Linked DNA regions of Homo sapiens: region 1 is linked to region 2. Evidence: promoter capture Hi-C in 16 types of primary human blood cells and fetal thymus (Javierre and others, 2016). All regions are on one chromosome and are shown on one strand. The core of a region is centred on a gene start or on the middle of the fragment in contact, and the rest is flanking DNA. Distances in the headings are between cores, read along the strand shown.

Region 1 (5,713 bases), core at 2,880-5,379, 600 kb after region 2:
CGAGATCATGCCACTGCACTCCAGCCTGGGCAACACAGCAAGACTCTGTCTCAAAAATAGACAAATAAATAAATAAATGAAAATAAAATAAATAAGCCTATTCAACACTTTATTATGAAATAGGCTTTGGTTAGATTATTTTGCCCAACTATAGACTAATGTAAGTGTCCTGCACACGTTTAAGGTAGGCTAAGCTATGATGTTCAGTAGGTTGGATGTACTAAATGCATTTTTGACATAATATTTTCAACTTATAATGGGTTTATTGGGATGTAATCCCATTGTAAGTCAAGGAGCAACTGTATTTCTTTTATAATTGGGTAGGGGAGGATGAGAGGGGTAAGCTGTTTTGTTTTGATAAAGCCAGGGGAATGGTGAAGGAGGGAAAGAGCTTGTTTCTCCTTTTTCTCCTGCCCAAGTGTCTAGAGAGGATAAAAAGGGGCCACATTTACTTCTTCCTAGAGCAAGACTGAGGGAGCACAGGTATTTTTCCCATTTAGTGTCCTTCACTAATCGGGTCAAACTGTGGAAGCACTTGCCTCAGTTCTTCATTTAGCGAGGGCTAAATGCTCTGAGGGTTATGGCTTTTTTGCCATCTCCCCACATTTTCTGTTGGAAAAGGCCATTCTCCAGTCCTGGTTCTCTGGAGCTGTGGGGGACTGTGCTATGGCACAGGATCCCAGTAAAGGGAGGTAGAAGAAGAGTGTGATTAAAAAAATAATCAGTTAAGGGTCACATTGCTAGGGATGCCAGGCTATATATACATCTATTTACCCATGAATTCAATAACAGTGTATGGGTGAAGAACATGAAGTGAGACAAATCTCGAGTTAAGCCCTGGTCCCACCACTTACTAGCAAGCTATTTAACCCCTTGAAGTCTCAGAATGCTCATCCATAAAACAAGACAAATACTTACTTTTATAGGTTGCTGTAATAGATAATACATATCAATTACTATGTGCCAGGTTCCATGCTAATAAGGGCTGAAGATACAGGGATAAAATAAATATAACTCATGATCTCCAAAATTCCCTACTTACAACTTTTTAAATGAAAAGTCCAGAAATGGGTCAATAATTCTAGTAACTCATCAACCACAGGAACACTTCTATATGTAACAACTTGATAGCTGAGGCATCTCAATTCTCTGCTTCAGCTGGTTGAATAAACAGTGCCCCAGTGAATACTTCTTTTTTGGCACAGGGCAAGGATCAAGATGATGCCTGGCTTGATCCTTGTGAATAATGGGACACAATAGGACACAATAATAAGAATTTCAAATTAGGTTTTGCTTATATTCATCACTACCTGTACATTTAAAATTTGTATTTTTTGACAAGAATCTGATTATCACAGAAGAGTGAAGGACTAGGCTGTGTTCCATGCCAATGATATCAGCTATGACAAATGATTGCAGAGTTCTTTTGCAATTATAAAATGCTACATAAATGCTGAAATAAAAAAAGAAAACCATTCTTGGGTTTATTTAACTAATTTCATGCTGCTAGATAATTTTTTGGTTTCACACTTCAGTAAGAATACCTCTAGAGGCTAGAGGAAACAAAAGGAAAAAAAAACTGCTGTTTCAGGAAGCCTTGGGTATGATCAGATCCCATGTTTAATCCCACTCCAGTCACACAGAACAATGTGAGCCACTTGGCTCAAGTTTTAAGATGCTTCTTTTTGAGAATATAAGATTAGTATGAATTCAAGACACACAACTGTGCTAACTGTTTGCTTCAAGCACACCAGTTACAGGAAACAATGAACAGTGCATATCAGAGGGAAAGAAAAGCAATCAATACATAATAGAGAGAAAGTGGCTGTTATTAACTACATAATAAGAGGTTAGTTTGATTGAGCTTAGCATGTTGTACTTTTGGTTCAATGCTTTCTGAGGACTGGGCAGGGGGAAGGGAGGAAAGGGAATCAACGTGTTTTCCAAGCCTAGGTTACCTCTGAGTAAACTGTGAAAGATAACTGCATAGTCACTACAAAGGAAAGCTGTGAAGATAAAGAAATAAAAAAGCTCTAAATTTCTTAAAAATCCAAGTACAGACACACATATACACACATACCCCTGACTGATTACATTTTAAAATTTCCCTAAAGCCTACCATAAATGTACTCAATCTACAGATAAGAATCCTGCTTGTGCAATAGGTGTTTCAGAAAAGTTTGGCTGGAGAAAAAAAAGTTTGCAAACTAAACCAAGTCAAACACATTAGGACAGCGTATTATGTAAAAGACCATTTCCTACTAATCGTTTTGACAAACTAAAGATTGTTTGTTATTAAAAGTAATCTTCTTCCACGATATAGAGGGTTCTAGATGCCCAGAGGTATGTACCCTTTAAAACAGGGCTCACCACAGCAACATCCATGCACAAAACTTCATTCGGTCTTGTACCCTATTTCTTAACCATCACTGGCTCTGATTCCTCTCCTAAGGCTCACCCATAATGGCTGGTTGTTCCTGATTTTCCTCTGGTTTTAGAACTCAGCCTACACCTCAACCATGGCAGGGAGCTTTGATCATCCTCCTAAATCCCGACCAGGATCCCTTTCCCTCTTTTTGGCTTTGCTAATTCTCTGTTGGAAGTGACAGTGTAAAGCAGTCCCGTCCTTTTAGCCTAAGCTGACTTCCTAACCCACCTCTTTTTCCCCTCCCTACTCCTTTCCTACCTCTGCTCAACTTGTTTCATAAGCCTAGATTTTTATCTACCTTTTTTCCAAAGTTGAAATCACCTGGACTTATTTCTAGGGGCTCTTCTACTTGTTCAAAGAAGTGAAAAAAAATCATTAGCAAACATAGAGGAAAACAGCTAAGGTACAGCACAGAGGTTCTCAAAGTGTGGTACTTGAAACAGCAACATCAGCATCACCTGATAATTTCATAGAAATGAACATTGTCTAGCCACCCCAGGCCAATTGAATAAAAAACTCTGGAGGTGGGCACAGCACTCTATATTTTAATACGTCTTCTGGGTGATTTTCATGTACACTGAAGTTTAAGAACCTCTGGGTCTGGAAGAAAAGAAGATGTCTGACAAATGTTTTGAATAAAATGAGGCATCTCATTAAACAGAATCAAGTCTATATTTTTGACACAGAAGAATATCTAAGATATTCCACATAAAGGAAAAAGCAATTGTAAAACCATGGGTATAATTTTGTAAAAGAATTTTGAAAAGGTACTACATAGAAAAATGTCTAGAAGGTTACATACTAAACTGTTAACAGTGGCTAACTTAGGGGAGATTTTACTTTTTCTTTATGAATATCTGTATTTTTAAATCTATAAGTATGTATTATTTTATAATTTTAAAAAAATGATTAATTTAGACATCTTCTACTGCTCTCTAGCAAAACTCAAGAGGTAAAAATTAACTCATTCCCCAATAGGCTTCAGTGTCTGGACTAATCAAGCTTTGTGATGCTTTAGGGAATTCTAGAGGAAGTGAGGCAGAGATAGTGCTCAGTCCTCCATGACTCAATCAGTGCTTCTATGTAAAGCCTCTGTGCCCAGGAAATGACAGGTCACAAAGCCTAAGAGATTTCTGCCCTTCTTAAATAGGCCAACTCAAAAAGGGGATGGTGGGGCTCTGTGGGAAAACAGAACAGACAAAAACTTAAGGGTTGTCTTGGAAGATGCCAATTTATTTCTAGGAAAATCTTCTTTGTGCAGAAATTATATATTTAAGTGGCCTGTTTTTTACCCCCATTCCTGACCTGGCAGTCATTCTGCAATTACGTTCACCCTTCTTCAAGCTGGCTCCAAGTATATACAGCATATGGTTGTGGTAGACTAAAAAGGGGCTTGAAAATAAAATAGGTTGGTAGTAAATGATCCAGGGCAAAATAAAAAGAACGTAAAAAAGAGGTGCAGGTATACACACACACCCAAGATCAAGTCGGGTCCTTACAAATATCCTTTACCTTATGATGCATCAAGAGAAAACCCTGACACTTCCAGGGATTCCTCTCATGCAACCGCTCAAACCTTTCACTTTCTGGCAAGCTTTCCATCAGAAGCACTACATGCATTCATAAAGGATCCCAAAGCACTTTACCTGTATTATAGTCATACACAGAGAACACTCAGTGTGATTTGTACACATCCGCTCCCTCTTCACTGCACTGCTAATTATAAGTTTGGCGGAATCAGAATATGGTTGTCTCCTGCAGAACAGGAGTTGCTCCAGAAACCAGAGAAACTTGGTAAGAAAAGCTTTCAGTAACTTTTAATAAGTGGTTCATCCTAGCTAAAGGAAAAACTTTTATCAGGGGTCCTCCTACTTTGAGCTAGGAAAGTTGATAAAGGTTACTCTAATTTTTTCTATCTACCAACCTAACTCTCTACTTCTGGAACCCTGACTACACCAGAAGACAAGAGATCTTACCAATGTCCCCGATATTTTCATTGCCATATGAAGAGAAATTTATTCTTGTGGCTGCAGCCACCTTTTGAAGAGCCCACCAGTCTATGGCTCTGCCACATATTGTGTTTCAATTTAGAAAACTGCAGCACAATGTGATCATGTGGCAGAAAGGAGATAAAATCCAGTGCTTGGTTTGCATGACATAAGATAAAGAGTATAGGCACTGGAGTCAGAGTTTGAATTCCACATCTATATTACATTAGATTTGGGCAGATGATTCTACCTTTCTAAACCTCAGTGTTCTTATCAATAAAGTAGGAAGAAAATGCTACTTTACAGTGTTGTTAAATAATTAAAAGTATTTAAGGGGAGAGCAGGAATGAGAAGTTAGCATTTAATGGGTACCGAATTTCAGTTTGGGATAGTAAAAAAGCTCTAGAGATGGACAGTGATGATGGCTGCACAACAAAGTGTGGCCAGGTGTGGTGGCTCACGCCCATAATCCCAGCACTTTGGGAGACTGAGGCGGGCAGATCACTTGAGGTCAGGAGTTCGAAACCAGCCTGGCCAACATGGTGAAACTCTGTCGCTAGTAAAAACACAAAAAGTTAGCTGGGTGTGGTGGCATGTGCCTGTAGTCTCAGCCACTCAGGCGGCTGAGGCAGGAGAATCACTTGAACCTGGGAGGGAGAGGTTGCACTGAGCCGAGATCATGCCACTGCACTCCAACCTGGGCATCAGAGCGAGATTCCGTCTCAAAAAAACAAAAAACAAAAACAAACAAACAAACAAAAAACCAAAGTGAATGTACTTAATGCCATTGAACTGTACACTCAAAAATGGTTAAAATTTTGTATGTATATTTTAGTACAATCATGTAAGAGTCCTAGCAAAGTGCCTGACTCTCAGTAGATACTCAAGAAATGCTAGTCCCATTCCTCTTAAAAAAAAAAAAAACAAAAACAAAAACAAAAAGAACCTACAGTAAAATAAAATCATGCGCCTTTCCCTATTTAATTGTGAGAAACTTTGATTCTAAGGCAAAGCCAGCTGGCCCCAATACCAGGTAGTGCCACAGTAAGTGTCTGGGTAGGAAGGAGAAGGAAGTCTGTTCAGTTCCGTTTACCTCCACCCCGTTATGGTGTCTCCCAGAATATCAATCCTCTAGACCCTAACATATTGAAATAAAAAAAAAAAGCCGGGACACTTAAACCAGTTTCCAAACCAGACTTCAGGTCATGAGGAAAAAAGTATTCTGAGTGGCAGCTGGCTCCTGGAAGCAGTGGAGAGATAAGACGCTAGTGCTGAACACCAACTAGATGAGTCTGGA
Region 2 (5,692 bases), core at 375-2,874:
CCCAAGCCAGGAGACAGGAACTTCAGTCTTTTTGTTAGTTTTTTGGTGCAGTCTTGTATAACCTAATCTCAGAAGTGATATGCCATTCACACCCACCATTTGCTATTGGTCATGCATACCAATCCTGGTACATGGTGGGAGGTGTCTACACTAGGTTGTGAACACCAGGAGGCTGGGATCATTGAGGGCCATCTTGAAGGCTGGTGACCACACTCCTCATTACTCTAAAGTAAGACAAGAAGGCACAATCCTGCAAATACCAAGGCAATATCCTCAAATAAGTCACAAAATTTCATCTTAGTCTAATCACTTTTTTGGGTGGTTGTTTATTTAACAAATATTCAATTAACCCAAGACAATGGGCCCAGCCCTATAGATACAGGCAGGAGTTAAACCTAGAACCTACATTGAGTTATAACAGAAACCAGGAATCAGGCCATGAGGGTTCATGGAAAAGAGAGGCCAAGAAAGAGAGCTAGAATCAGGACCCTGTGACAAAATGGTTCTAAAATCTTCTAATCCAGGAATGGGTTCCTCCTTAGACAATTTGATTTTTGGTTTCCTGGGCCTTGACAACATCCCCACAGAAAATGGAGTCGGGGAAGGGGAAGGGGGAGGAGAGGAGACAAAGGAACAAATGTCCTTAGCAGCTTACCAATTTCTGGAATTTCACAAATGGGCATTCTTTCTTAAGCTCGAATATATCAGAACCCATTTTTTGAGCTGGAATTTGCTTAAAAAAAAGTGGAGGGTAGGAAAAGAAAAGAGCCACCCAAATACTAAAGGTAGATAAAGGAAATGTCTGTTTTGATGTACGGTCTCTGAGAACAGGGCAAATCAGAGTCCAGTACTGCCAGTGCAAAATCACTCTTTACAATTATATTCATTATAATTACCTTTTTGAATAAATGAACTAAATCATTTCCATTAACCTCCTCCCCCATCTCACCCCCGTATAACAAGAACCTAGCTAGGTAGTAGCTTTCATTCCATTCCTCTCTTGTCCCCTCTCCCAAACACTTCCTCACCTGCTCTTGTAATCAGATCTTCTCTATGACTATGGGAAAGTTACTAAAAACCCTAAATGATTATTTCCCAATCTGGATAATACTAATAATACCAGCTCCAACCTACTACATAGGCTGAAAAACTATATACGCAGAAGTAATTTTACATTCAAGACAGGATGTGTGCATGTGTGTGTGTCAATTCCAAGAAGCCCGATATGCACAGCCTCATTTTCATTCCAAACACTGGTACGCCGATCACTCCTGAACAACTACGTTTCCAAGGCGCCTGCCAAGCTTGCAGGTGCATTCCCCAAGTGCGCCAGCCCACCCACATGGGTCAAGGGAAAACCTGTTTCCCTGACTTGGTAAGTAGACAAGTCAAGCCAATTTCCTCCCCGAGTAAACCATCCTCCGCCCTGGTCCCCCTAGTCCTTTGGTTCTAGAGTCTCGGGGTTTAGTCATCCAGCCGCCGCGTCCGTCTTGATCCGCGCTCACTGCCGCAGCACCACAACCGAAACGCCTTCCCCCACTCTGAAGGACTACAGCCCCCGGCAGGCCCCGCGACAACAGCGACAGCCACGTGACCTCGCTTCCCTGGGTGCCACGGTCATGTGACTTCGGCAAGATGGCTGCCCTGACAGCGGAGCATTTTGCAGCACTCCAGAGCCTGCTCAAGGTAAGTCGAAGGGGTGGGGACAGCGTGAGGTGGCCCTTTGTCTCCGAGACTTTAGACGGAGCAGGAATTGGGAACAAATTGACCCTGGTTTGGAGCCACAACTCTGCTGCTTGTTCTCTGTGTGATCCCAGGCAAATCGTTGCGTCTTTCTGAGCTTTTAAAAAGTAAGAACAAAATATCGTTTTGACAGGAACGTAAGATAAAAAAAAATAAAATAATGGGCATGAAGGCGCAGTACAACCTCCTGCTATTAGTCTTTGGGATTGGTTTTCGGTATTGGTGCATTGAAGTGGTAATTGCTAGACCCACGTTGTCAGTTCCCCATTTCATCCCGTAGCCCCTCCTGCATTGCACAATTAAGAAATTATCTCCTACTGCGTCTGCCCAGCCCTCCGAATGACCTGTGCGTTCAATGTTCCCTTGAGGTCCAGATTTTCCCTACTCTCTTTGACCTGCGAAAGGGGCAGGACATACTCCTGATAATCATTTGAAAAGTTGTGAGGTTGAAAGGGACCTACTTCATAGGGCTTTGTAAAGCTCAAATGAAGTATTATTATTATTTGAGACGGAGTCTAGCTCTGTTGTCCAGGCTGGAGAGCAGTGGCGCAATCTCGGCTCACTGCAACCTCCGCCCCCCGAGTTCAAGCAATTCTATGCCTCAGCCTTCCGAGTAGCTGGGATTACAGGCGCCCGCCACCAAGCCTGGCAAATTTATGTATTTTTAGTAGAGACGGGGTTTCAACATCTTGGCCAGGCTGGTCTTGAACTCCTGACCGCGTGATCCACTCGCCTCCGCCTTCCAAAGTGTTGGGATTACAGGCGTGAGCCACCGCGCCTGGCCGGAATTATTTAACTTATGATTTGCCCTGTAGGAGAAAGGGCAGCTTTATTTTCCTTCGTAGAACTTGTCGCTAGCTATTTGCCCGTTGTCCGTCTGTCTCATAAGAATGTAAGATCCATCAGGGACCTTTCCTTTCTTCCTCTCTCTTTTTTTTTTTTTTTAAACACCAGGTGAAGAGGGTTGAGTTACTCTCCTCAATTTATGGCACATCATCATCATCGGTCCATGTAATAGTCTCTGTTTTGTTTTACTTATTTATTTTTTAATTGCCTTCTCAGTGTTCATTAGCATTCTCCACTCCTAAGGGGATCTACTCTTTTGTTCACAAGTGTTAATGCCCAATAAGTAGAACAATAATACCTGGCACACAGCACGTGCTCAGTAAATAGCTGTTAAATGAATTAATAAATGAAGTAACAGAGCTGGGACTGGCAATCTAGGGCTCTCAGCTCCCAACCCAGTGCCTTTTCACCTTCATTTTGGCTGCTCTGTACCTACCCCCGCCCCTATACCTGTTGGTCTTATGCACTCTTTTCTTTTAAAAACTTTAAAAGATTAGTGTGTAGTATACATACAGAAAAGTGCATAAACCATACATTTACAGTTAAATGATTTATTACACACCAATGTAACCACCACCAAAGTCAAAAAATGAAATGTTACCAGTACCCCAGAAGTCCCCCTTTCGCCCTTTCTTTGCTTCCTCACTTTCTTCCCCAATGGTAACCTCTATGTTTGCTTCTGATACAATTCATTTAATATTGCCCATGTTTGAACTTAACATAAATGGAATAATACAGCATATACTTTTTTTTTATGCCTGGCTTCTTTTGCTCACCATTATGTAGCAGTAGTTCATTGATTTTCATTGCTACTGTCCTGTGTACTTTCTTTTCTTTTTTTAAAAAAATACTTAGACTTTTTATTATGAGATAATTATAAATCCATATGTAGTTGTAAGAAATAATATAGAGAGATCCCATTTATCCTTTACTCAGTTTCCCTCAGTTCTGCAGGATTCTGCGGAACTATACATAATATAGTATATATACTATTATGTATAGTATGTATATAATATAGAGTATACATACTACACGATATACATAGTATGTAGTATACATACTACGCGATATACATAGTATGTAGTATACATACTACGCGATATACATAGTATGTAGTATACATACTACGCGATATACATAGTATGTAGTATACATACTACGCGATATACATAGTATGTAGTATACATACTACGCGATATACATAGTATGTAGTATACATACTACGCGATATACATAGTATGTAGTATACATACTACGCGATATACATAGTATGTAGTATACATACTACGCGATATACATAGTATGTAGTATACATACTACGCGATATACATAGTATGTAGTATACATACTACGCGATATACATAGTATGTAGTATACATACTACGCGATATACATAGTATGTAGTATACATATATAGCATACTTACTATTATGTATGGTTCTGCATAGGGGAAATTGGGTAAAGGATAAATGGATGTCAATACCTAATGTCAAAAGTATTGATATTGACAGTCAAAATACAAAACATTTCCACCACCACAAAGATTCCTCATGAATAGCCACACTCTCCTTAACCTTTGGCGTTATTCATTTCTCTAATTTTGTCATTTCAAGAATGCCGTATAAATGGAATAATACAGTAAGTAACCTTCTGAGATTGACTTTTTTCACTCAGCCTAATTTTCATCCATGTTGTGTGTATCAATAGTTCTTTCCTTTTTATTGCTGAGTGGTATTCCATGTAATGATTGTCCAACAGTGTTGTACTGTGTAGTTTTCAGCATGCACATCCTGTATTTCATTTTTTGAGCAATTGCAAATGGTTTTGGTTTTTTTTGGTTTGTTTGTTTGTTTGTTTGTTTTGAGAGAGTCTCGCTCTGTGGCCCAGGCTACAGTTCAGTGGCATGATCTCAGCTCACTGCAACTTCCACCTCCTGGGTTCAAGGGATTCTCATGCCTCAGTCTACCAAGTAGCTAGGACTACAGGTGCCCACCACCCCTCCAGGCTGATTTTTTTTTTCTTTTCTTTCTTTCTTTCTTTCTTTCTTTTTTTTTTTTTTTTTTGTATTTTTAGTAGAGACAGGGTTTCCCCACGTTGGCCAGGCTGGTCTTGAACTCCTGGCCACAAGTGATCCACCAGCCTTGGCCTCCCAAAGTGCTGGGATTATAGATGTGAGCCACCATGCCCAGCCCGTATTTTTAATTTTAGTGTCCACATGTTCATTGTTAATAAATAGAAATACAACTGATTTATGTATGTTTATCTTCTACATGCAAACTTGCTAAACTCATTGTTTCTAGGAGTTTTTGGTATATTTCTTGGAATGTTCTACATGGAAAATCATGTTATTTACAAATAGAGACAGTTTTATTTCTTCCTTTCTGATCTGCACACATTTTATTTCCTTTCCTTGCCTTATTTTAGTGGCTAGAATTTTCAGCACTGTGTTGATTCAGAGTGGAGAAAGCAGATATCTTGCCTTGTTCTCAGTTTTGGGGGCAAAGCATTCAGTCTTTCACCATTAAGTATAATGTTCACTGTAGGTTTTTTGTAGATACTGTTTATCAAGATAAGGAAGTTCTCTTCTATTCCTATTTTTCTCAGGGCTTTTATCAATAATGGATGTTTAATTTTATCAAATGCTTTCTCTGCATTGATTTATATCATGTGATTTTCTTTGTTAATGTGATGGATTACATAGATTTGCAAATACTGAACCAGCCTTGCATCTGTGGAATAAATCCCACCTGGTCATATTGTATAATTATATATAATTATATGTCTCTATTTGCTAATAAAATATTATACATATATATAACTGATCTCTATTTGCCATTATTTTCTAAGAATTTTCGCATCTATTTTTATGAGGGATATTGGTCTGTAGTTTTCTCATTTTTCTGTACAATTTTGTGCGGTTTTGGTATCAGGGTAATACTAGCTTTGTAGCTATATAAAATCATTTAGAGAGTACTCCATCATCTTCTGTTTTTCTAGTGGAGATTGTGTAGAATCAGTTCATTCTTTTTTTAAATGTTTGCTAGAATTCTCCAGTTAAACTATCTGGGTCTAGAGACTTTTTTAGGAGCCTTAAAATTGTGAA

Evidence for each region. Contacts are between HindIII fragments. The CHiCAGO score rates a contact against its expected background, and 5 or more counts as called.
Region 1: a fragment that was not itself captured here is called in contact with the fragment with the promoter of COMMD9 in region 2 in 10 of 17 cell types (naive CD8 T cells, naive CD4 T cells, naive B cells and 7 more); the score reaches 12.5 in naive CD8 T cells.

The regions. Positions count from the first base shown.
Region 1 is chr11:35,686,002-35,691,714 of GRCh38, reverse strand. All of the region lies in intron 2 of TRIM44 (tripartite motif containing 44), which reads right to left. Among named protein-coding and RNA genes, the nearest start is that of TRIM44, 26 kb to the right of the region's middle. RefSeq lists an enhancer at 1,214-1,383. The HindIII fragment of the contact is 210 bases long and covers 4,025-4,234 here.
Region 2 is chr11:36,285,356-36,291,047 of GRCh38, reverse strand. It overlaps COMMD9 (COMM domain containing 9), which reads left to right and starts at 1,624. Exons shown (of 6, transcript NM_014186.4): 1 at 1,624-1,686. The coding sequence starts at 1,636. RefSeq lists enhancers at 1,474-1,723, 1,560-2,262. The HindIII fragment of the contact is 8,947 bases long and covers 1,307-5,692 here.